Regions from separate parts of the Homo sapiens genome. Here region 1 is linked to region 2. The links are contacts of gene promoters, found by promoter capture Hi-C in human tissues and cell types (Jung and others, 2019). All regions are on one chromosome and are shown on one strand. The core of a region is centred on a gene start or on the middle of the fragment in contact, and the rest is flanking DNA. Distances in the headings are between cores, read along the strand shown. Region 1 overlaps FXR2 (FMR1 autosomal homolog 2). Region 2 holds the start of ATP1B2 (ATPase Na+/K+ transporting subunit beta 2).

Region 1 (4,689 bases), core at 1,512-4,011, 53 kb before region 2:
ATTTCTTGAACCCAGGAGGCAGAGGTTGCAATAAGCTGAGATTGTGCCACTGCACTCTAGCCCGGGCAACAGAGTGAGTTAGACTCCATCTCATAAAAAAAAAAAATTAAACAAATAAATAACTTAAAAAAAAAAACAGAGGACCTTGGCCAGGCACAGCGGCTCACACCCATAATCTCAACAGTTTCGGAGGCTAAGAAGGGAGGATTGCTTGAGGCTAGGAGTTAACAACCAGCTTGGGCAACAGAGATCTGGTCTATTTTTTTGATTTTTTGGTCTCACTCTATTGACTATGTTGCCCAGGTTGGTTCAGTGGCACCATCATGGTGTACTGCAGCCTTGACTTTCCAGGCTCAAGTGATCCTCCTGCCTCCGCCTCCCAAGTAGCCAAGTAGCTGGGGCCACAGATGCATGCCACCACGCTCAGTTAACGTTTTTTGGTTTTTGGTTTTTTTGGGGGGTAAAGACAGGGTCTCTCTATGTTGTCCAGGTTGTTCTCCAACTCCCAGGCTCAAGTGATCCTCCCCTCTATCTTCCCATTTCAGCCTCCCAAGTACCTGCGACTACAGGTACGCACCACTACTTCCAGCTAATTTTTAAATTTTTGTAGAGATTGGGTCTCACTATGTTGCACAGGCTGGTCTCAAACTCCTAGGCTCAAGTGATCCTCTCACTTTGACCTCCGAAGGTGCTGGGATTACAGGTGTGAGCCACTGTGCCCAGTTTGAGGCTTATTTTCTACTTCGGCCTCTCTTCCCTCTATCCCCTAAGAGACCCAGAAGAAAGACATCCTTTGCTGACCTCCCCATAGATGCGGAAAGTGCAGGTCTCTTCACCCAACTCAATGGCGGTCACCCCAGGTACTTTTCGGGCCTGCTGGATGTTGGCACCGTGAGTCCCAATTGCCAGTCCCATCAGGTCCTCTCGCACTGTGAACTCCTCTTGGAAGGCTGCTGCCAACTGCTTGCTTGTCTGAAAGGAAAAGTCACTGTAGGAATCATGGTGGTAGAATCTCACAGTCCCAGGCACACGACCCTTTGCATAACTTAAATAAGGAAAACTGTGTGATATTAATAGAAAGCTAGAACCACTCTGGAGTCCGCGGACCACGAGGACCTGTGTGGAAAGGTCAGGAACTTTTTGTTTTTTCTTTGAGATGGCGTCTCGCTCTGTCGCCCAGGCTGGAGTGCAGTGGCGCGATCTCAGCTCACTGCAACCTCCGCCTCTCGACTTCAAGTGATTCTCATGCCTCGGCCTCCTGAGTAGCTACGACTACAGGTGTCCACCACCATGCCTGGCTAATTTCTGTATTTTTAGTAGAGACAAGGTTTCACCATGTTGGCCAGGCTGGTCTCAAACTCCTGACCTCAGGTGATCCGCCCGCCTCAGCCTCCCAAAGTGCTGGGATTACCGGCATAAGCCACCACGCCCGGCCAAGGTCAGGAACTTTTAATTCCACTCCTTCCAAATACCAGTGGTTTGTGGGGGAGGAAAGGTAAAGAGGGCAGAGTTTGGACTGGGACACACCGAAGTTCTGGATTTGGCCCTAACAGTATCTGTCCCTAAGAGTATCTATCTGTGTGATCTTAAACAAAACATACTCTGCCTCTTGTGTCATCTGCTAAGTGATTATATCCAACTTATCTTATTCTCAAGACTAGCAAGAGGATTAGACAAGGCTGGTGTGAAAGTACTTCTCACAAGGTACATGCAAGTGTAAGGAACTCTTACCTTAATCAAACAAATATCAACTCATCCCCAAATAAAACTCAACAACTTAAGTAAAAAGTGAGGGGTAGGCTGTGCGCGGTGGCTCACGCCTGTAATTCCAGCACTGTGGGAGGCTGAGGCAGGTGGATCACAAGGTCAGGAGATCAAGACCATCCTGCCAACATAGTGAAACCCCATCTCTATTAAAAATACAAAAATTAGCTGGCCTTGGTGGGGTGTGCCTATAATCCCAGCTGCTTGGGAGGCTGAGGCAGGAGAATTGCTTGAACCAGGGAGTTGGAGGTTACAGTGAGCCGAGGTCATGCCACTGCACTCCAGCCTGGTGACAGAGCAAAACTCTGTCTCAAAAAAAAGTGAGGGGTTAAGAAAAACAGAAAACATGCCTCTAGAACACCAGGCTTTCACTTCATTTCTCAATCAGTCCTTAGAGGAACCCCTGGGTTCAGGGGCAGGAAGACAGGAAAGGTTTTAGAGGAGTGAATCCCATGTTGTAAGCACCAAATAGAAACAATACCTGAAAGGAGACATTCCTAGATTGAAATACACTACTTCCCACTTCCAAGTTGGATAGGACTGAATTATACCAAGGATTTATACCAGGCAAGAAGAGAAAGTTGGAAAAATAAACTAAGTTGAGTGTTCAAAATCACTACATTAGGAGGGGAGGGGAAGAGATCTACAATGACCTATAAGCGTCTTCTAGATAAGCTTGCAGAACAGCTGGGTTTTCTTTTTTTTTTTTCTTTTTTTTGAGATGGGGTCTGTCACCCAGGCTAGAGTGCAGTGGCATGATCTCTGCTCACTGCAACTTCTGCCTCCCTTTTTTTGTATTTTTAGTAGAGAAGGGGTTTCACCATGCTGGCCAGACTGGTCTCAAACTCCTAACCTCAGGCAATCCACCTGCCTCGGCTTCCCAAAGTGCTGGGATTGCAGGCGTGAGCCGCTGCACCCGGCCCCTTTCCGGTTTTTAGAGGCTTCACTACTAGGCATGACTGATTAAATCACTGATCCTCAGTGATTGCCTTAACCTTTGGCCCCATTCCCCTCCCAGGAAGTTGGTGGGGGTGAGGCTGAAAGTTCCAACCCTCTAATCATGAAGCCACCTAGAGGGGCTAGCCATGAATCAACTCATCAGCACACAAAAACACACATCACTGGAGATTCCAAGGATTTTAGAAGTTGAATGCCAGGAGCCTGGTCAGGAGACCAAATATGTATCTCTCAGTATCACAGAGCCTGTCAGTCCTACTGGTTTTACTCGTAAAATTTATCCTACATAAAACTACTCTCTCTCTCTTCCTTTAGCACTCCAGTTCAAGTTTCTCACCTGGACTACTGTGCTCTGTTCCTGCTTCCATTCTTGCCCCCCTTTCCATCTGTCATTGAAACAGGAGTTTAAAACAGAAGGCACTTTCGGCCGGGCACAGTGGCTCTCGCCTGTAATCCCAGCACTTTGGGAGGCCGAGGTGGGTGGATCACGAGGTCAGGAGATCAAGACCATCCTGGCTAACACGGTGAAACCCCATCTCTACTAAAAAAAAATACAAAAAAATCAGCCGGGCGTGGTGGCAGGCGCCTGTAGTCCCAGCTTCTCGTGAGGCTGAGGCAGGAGAATGGCGTGAACTTGGGAGGTGGAGCTTGCAGTGAGCCGAGATCACGCCAATGCACTCCAGCCTGGGTGACAGAGCGAGACTCCGTCTCAAAAACAAAACAAAACAAAACAAAACAAAAAACCAGAAGGCACTGTTAACTCAATGGCTTCTCAGTATACGCACAATAAAATCCCCCCTCCTCAGCCTACCGTACATGTCTTACATGATCTACTCTCTGACCGAATTTTGTATCGGTCTCCCTTTGCTCACTCTGCGCTAACTACACAAGCTGCAGTGAGCTGAGATCGCACTACTGCACTCCAGCCTGGACGACAGAATGAGACTCCGTCTCAAAAAATTAAAAAACAACAACAAAAATTAGGCCGGGTGCAATGGGTCATGTCTATAATCCCAGCACTTTGGGAGGCCAAGGCAAGTGGATCCCTTGAGGCCAGGGGTTCGCGACCAGCCTAGCCAACATGGTGAAACTCCGTCTCTACTAAAAATACTGAAATTAGGGCCAGGTATAGTGGCTCATGCCTGTAATCCCAGTACTTTGGGAGGCCAAGGCAGGTGGATCACCTGCGGTCGGGAGTTCAAAACCAGCCTGGGCAACATGGTGAAACACTAAAAAAGCAAAAATTATCCAGACGTGGGGGCGCGTGCCTATTATCCCAGCTACCTGGGAGGCCGAGGCACAAGAATCGCTTGAACCCAGGAGCGAGAGGTTGCAGGGAGCGGAGATTGTGCCATTGCACTCCAGCCTGGGTGACAGAGGGAAACTGTCTCCAAAAAAAAAAAAAAAATAGCCAGGTATGGTGGCATGCACCTGTAATCCCACCCACCCAAAGGCTGAGGTGAGAGGATCACTTGAGCTCGGGGGGTAGAGACTGCAGTGAGCTGAGATCGCACCACTACATACACTCCAGCCTGGATAACAGACTGAGACTCCATCTCAAAACAAAAAACAAAAACAAAAAATAAAGTTTGTATCATCTGAAGGTAATGGTGAATTTTTACCTGCCAGTGCCCTGAGCAGGATCCCTGAAGAAGTCAAAGATTATCATGACCCAGAAATTGCACAGGCACAGAAAAAAGCCTCCCAAAAAGATCAATTCCCTTGATAAATGGAAATGGTATTCAAACACACACACCCTATTCACTTAGAATAGTATAATACCAACGAAAGGGAATCTGACAATTATACGATGTCAGAATTCAAAAAGATCTCACAGAAATACTCTAGTCAGGCCAGGCGTGGTGGCTGACACCTGTAATCCCAACATTTTGGGAGGTCGAGGTGGGCGGATCACCTGAGGTCCATAGTTTGAGATCAGCCTGGCCAACATGGTGAAACCCCATCTCT
Region 2 (4,824 bases), core at 1,036-3,535:
TTTGAACAAGGGTCCCTGCATTTCCATTTTGCACTGGATCCTGACAATTATGCAGCTGGCCATGCTTCAGTCTATTCTGCAGCAGATTCGGGATTAATTTTCTCAAAATACAGCTTTAATTAGGCCACTCCTCAGCTGAAAGTTCTTCAGTGGCTTCTTATTAGCCTGTAGGATAGAGTCCTGATTCTTCAGTCTAACCTGCAGGGTACTCCGCAATCCACACCCATGCTGTGTCCCCAACCTCCTTTCCCACTAGTCTCCGACTAGTTCTCTCCTGGAGCCAAGCCAGCCACTCCTGGGGTAGACTGTGCTTACTCCTGACTTCACACCTCTGTGCCTTTCATTCCTTTGTCCTGGAAGACTACCTACCCTTCAGAGGCCAGCCCCAACTCCCATTCATTCATTCATTCATTCAATGCATACCATTTTTTTGAGATGGAGTTTTGCTCTTGTCCAGGCTGGAGTGCAGTGACACAATCTCGGCTCACTGCAACCTCCACCTTCCAGGTTCAAGCAATTCTCTTGCCTCAGCCTCCTGAGTAGCTGGGATTACAGGCTCCCACCACCGCACCCGGCTAATTTTTTTAGTTTTAGTAGAGACGCAGTTTCACCATGTTGGCCAGGCTGGTCTTGAACTCCTGACCTCTGGTCTCGAACTCCCTTGCTCAGGTGATCCATTGGCCTCGGCCTCCTATAGAGCTGGGATTACAGGCATGAGCCACTGGGCCTGGCCGAGATAATGATTTTTTTTTTCTCTCTTTTTTTGAGACGAAGTCTCACTCTATTGCCCAAGCTGGAGTGCAATGGCGTGATCTCAGCTCACTGCAAGCTCCGCCTCCCGGGTTCAAGCAATTCTCCTGCTTCAGCCTCCTGAGTAGCTGGGACTACAGGCACCCACCACCATGCCCAGCTAATTTTTTTTTTTTTTTTTATTGAGACGGAAGCTCTGTTGCCCAGGCTGGAGTGCAGTGGAGCGATCTCGGCTCACTGCAAGCTCCGCCTCCCGGGTTCATGCCATTCTCCTGCCTCAGCCTCCCAAGTAGCTGGGACTACAAGCTCCCGCCACGACGCCCAGCTAATTTTTTTTTTTTGTATTTTTAGTAGGGACGGGGTTTCACTGTGTTATCCAGGATGGTCTCGATCTCCTGACCTCGTGATCCACCCACCTCGGCCTCCCAAAGTGCTGGGATTACTGGCGTGAGCCACCGCGCCTGGCCTAATTTTGCATTTTTAAGTAGAGACGGGGTTTCACCATGTGGGCAAGGCTAGTCTCGAACTCCTGACTTCGTGATCTGCCCGCCTCGGCCTCCCAAAATGCTGGGATTACAGGCATAAGCCACCGTGCCCGGCTTGAGATAATGATTCTTAACATGTGGTATGTAGAGCAAGTGTACTCCCGCCCTAGACTGTGAGCCCCGTGAGAGATGTGGCTTCAGTGTAACCTCTCTGGCCTCCCCAGGGCTACAGCACACAGTCTATAGAGGTGCTCAATAAATGTTTGTTGACCCAAGTAGACACATAAGGAGGTGAGTTCCGACGTGGGGGTGGGGGTGCCAGGAGGCAGAGAACCGAAGTAGACCTGGCTGCAGGGCTGGGATCTCAGGGCAGTGCTGGGGACTGGGAATGTGGTGTTGAGAGGGCTTCAGGGAGACGTGATGGGAAGATGGGGAAGCCTCTGCACGTGGACAGAGCCAGGTGGTGTGGACAGGGGCTGTGAGATTGGAGAAGGAGGCGTCTGGGGGACTGGTAGCGGCTCCCAACAGGGGAACGTCCCTCTGGGGGTGGCCTTTATCCATCTCTGCGGGGCCTGTCCTAGCTTCCCTCCTGGCTCGGCCAGCCTCCCGGCTGGTCTCTTCGCTCTCTTTCTTGATCTCTAGCTCTTTATTCCTCTGACATTCTGCCCCATCTGCTCCCGGACTCTTCCGCCGCATCTGTATCTTAGTCTCTTTCTAACTCCCTGCCTGGGGCCCCCACCTTTGAGCATATATCGGCTTCTCTCTCTGCCGTTGTGTTTCTCTGGGGTTATCTTTCCCTCTACTCCGCCCGGACACGCCCTCTATCTCTTCCTCCCACCCTGTCCCAGTCTAGTACCTGGGGTGGGGGTAATGGAGAGACAGCTAGGTCCCTAAGAGAAGTCAGGGGGGCGGGCCCAACCTCTCCATATTTACATATGTATGAGGTCGCCTGGGCCAGTGGCGAGGAGGCGGAGCTTCTGGGGGTGGGAAGGGGGCGGGCACCCCCAGAGCCGCAGAGTATAAAGACCGCGCTCGGCGACCGCGGGCCTCGCACTGCTGAGGAGCGGAGCCTCCGCCTGGGGGGCCCCCCATCCCTGGCTGTCCCCCAGCTGCGCGTCCCCGCCCCACCCCCGCGGCTGAGCCACCACCGGTGCAGTGGTCTCCGCTTGGCGGAGCGAGCCTTGAGCTTCGTTCCACAGCTTCTTTGCATCTTGGATTTCGGGGCGGCCCCCTCCCCCACCTCTCTCTGCCTTTTTGTACCCCGCTTTTTTTCTGCGTTCTGCTCGGTTTTTGTAGCCGTCTGTTTTTGCACCCCATTTCGTTTTGTTTCTAGACGGTTTGGTGGGGGGTGAAGCTGCATTCATACCCCTTCCTCTTGTTATTCTCCCCTGCTCTGACAGCACCCCTTTTCATCGCAGTTGGGGGGCCTAGGATCGGTGCATCTTCCGCCGCGCTGCCAGCACCCCGCAGCGCGTGGTCGTGCACCCCGGAATCTGCAGCAGCTGCATATCTGAGGGGGGTCTCCTTTGCCCGCGCCGCCTTCGCTCCCCGTGCTTTTGGGTGTGTGGAGGGCTTCAGCGCGCGGCGCCCCCGCTTCTCCGCAACCCCCCGCCCCGCGCCCGGACTCGCCCCGCGCCACCAAGATGGTCATCCAGAAAGAGAAGAAGAGCTGCGGGCAGGTGGTTGAGGAGTGGAAGGAGTTCGTGTGGAACCCGAGGACGCACCAGTTTATGGGCCGCACCGGGACCAGCTGGGGTACGCAGGGCCGGCACGCAAGGGGCGGGGGAAAGCCGCGGGGCGACGCCTCGGGGGCGCAGGGTCCCGCCGACGCGGCCCCAGCTCCCCTCCCGGGTCCCCGGCGTCCAGCCTCCCTGCCGGGCTCTGGGCTGGGAGGGGGCCGAATCGCCAGTCTAATCTCCCCGGCTGGCCGTGCGGAGGCGGAGAAAGTAGGTCACAGCCGCCTTCCCGCCCCCCGCGGAGCCCCCTCGGGCGGGGGGTCGCCAGCTCCGCCTGCGTGTCCGCGCCGGCGCTCACACTCCCTCTCGGGGCCTGTCCGCTCCACACGGGCGTCCCCCACCTCCAAAGAGCGCCCCTTCCCTCCCTCCGGCTCTCACTAGCTCCGCAGCCCCGTCTATTTTTAGCTCGTGCCCACCCCCTGGACCCTGGGAACGTTCATGAGGGGGCGGGTCTTGGGGGGTGTGTTAGGGGGGTTCTTCACGGCGGAAGTTGTCTGTATCCCACCGCCTGGCCTTGGGAGCCTTCTGGGACTGCTTTGTGGGTTGGGGGGCTGCTGATAGTATGAGTTTTACCGAGGCTGCAGGTTTTGCTCCCATGTCGGTGACGGAGGGAGGAGTGGTCGCTGTGGTGATTTGTGTGCATCAGCCAGCCAGGTGTCTGTGACAGTCGGATGACTTGGAAGCCTCCCCAGGCTGACCATGGCAGGACTCAGGGAGCTGTAGTGGTCGGGGGTTGGGGGGGTGGAGGGGGTCTGGTGACCGGCACAGGTGCAGGTGAGGGGTGGAATTCTTCCAAGAGGGATGGTCAAGCTGGGACGTTGAGACACAGGGGACAGAGGACACTGTGTGACACGATTTACAATCTTTCCACACTGGGCACCGTCCCCATCAGTCCACCCATTCGGGGCCTACACGAAGTGGGTCCCATGCAATCCATTCCCTCAGGGAACTCAAACTCCAGCCCCTGGGATGAGAAGAATCCAGCAATGCTTGGGAGAGCCAGAGGACTTCATGGAAGAAGTGTCCTCTGAGATGGAAGGATTGGGAGTCCAGGGTGGTGGGAACAGCCGGCCCTTGGGTCCTTACTTCAGGCGGGGGAGCCATGGAGAGATCCCACCAAGGGAAGGCTGTGGGAGATTCTGCCTTTCCTCCCTGCCTCTGCCCAGGGTGCTGGGTGTGAACTGAGGGTGGGGTGACTGTTGAAGGTTCTAACAAGCCGTCTCTGAGAGATTTGTAGCTAGGCTAGTGTTAGGTCTTTCATTTCAGGAACTGTGTTCAAAGTTTGGCTTCTGAAGGGCACCAGGAGAGAGATGTTGCTATTCAAATCTGAGGGTCCAGTCTCTGCGGGGTGGTATGAGGGTTTGCTTGTGAATGGTGGCCAGTACCCGCTTTAAAAGGCACCATGCTAGCACAGCTTTAAGCATGAGTACGAATGCAGAGGTAACAGATGTGTGCCTTGTCAGGACTATGCATGGTTGAGAAGTTGGAAATGTAATTGGAGGCAAAATAACAGACCTCCACAAGGTCGGGCTTCACTGTGCCCTAGGACCAGGAGGGGGCTGGGAGTCATGGCTAGAAGCCAGACACAACTGCCTGTTTCCAGTTTGTCTCATTTTGCCTCCAGAGGAAGGCTCTAAGACATCCCTGTGGCTCTGTGATCAGTCCCAGTGCAGAACTTCAGAGTGGGTAGAGGGGTGTGTGGGGATAGTTGAGGTTATGGTGGGAACCTTGGGCCCTGCTGACCCTGTTTCCTCCTCCCTAGCCTTTATCCTCCTCTTCTACCTCGTTTTTTATGGGTTCCTCACCGCCATGTTCACCCTCACCATGTGGGTGATGCTGCAGACTGTCTCCGA

Evidence for each region. The method cuts DNA at HindIII sites, captures the fragments that hold promoters and counts their contacts. A contact is called where the count stands out against the background at its distance.
Region 1: a fragment that was not itself captured here is called in contact with the fragment with the promoter of ATP1B2 in region 2 in 1 of the 25 tissues and cell types used here (adrenal gland).

What each region holds. Positions count from the first base shown.
Region 1 is chr17:7,595,023-7,599,711 of GRCh38, forward strand. FXR2 (FMR1 autosomal homolog 2) reads right to left here. Exons shown (of 17, transcript NM_004860.4): 8 at 802-972. Among named protein-coding and RNA genes, the nearest start is that of SOX15, 7.3 kb to the left of the region's middle. The HindIII fragment of the contact is 6,198 bases long and covers 1-4,689 here.
Region 2 is chr17:7,648,641-7,653,464 of GRCh38, forward strand. It overlaps ATP1B2 (ATPase Na+/K+ transporting subunit beta 2), which reads left to right and starts at 2,286. Exons shown (of 7, transcript NM_001678.5): 1 at 2,286-2,990; 2 at 4,734-4,824. The coding sequence starts at 2,879. RefSeq lists enhancers at 938-1,438, 1,439-1,939, 2,214-2,856 and a silencer at 2,196-2,345. The HindIII fragment of the contact is 20,754 bases long and covers 1-4,824 here.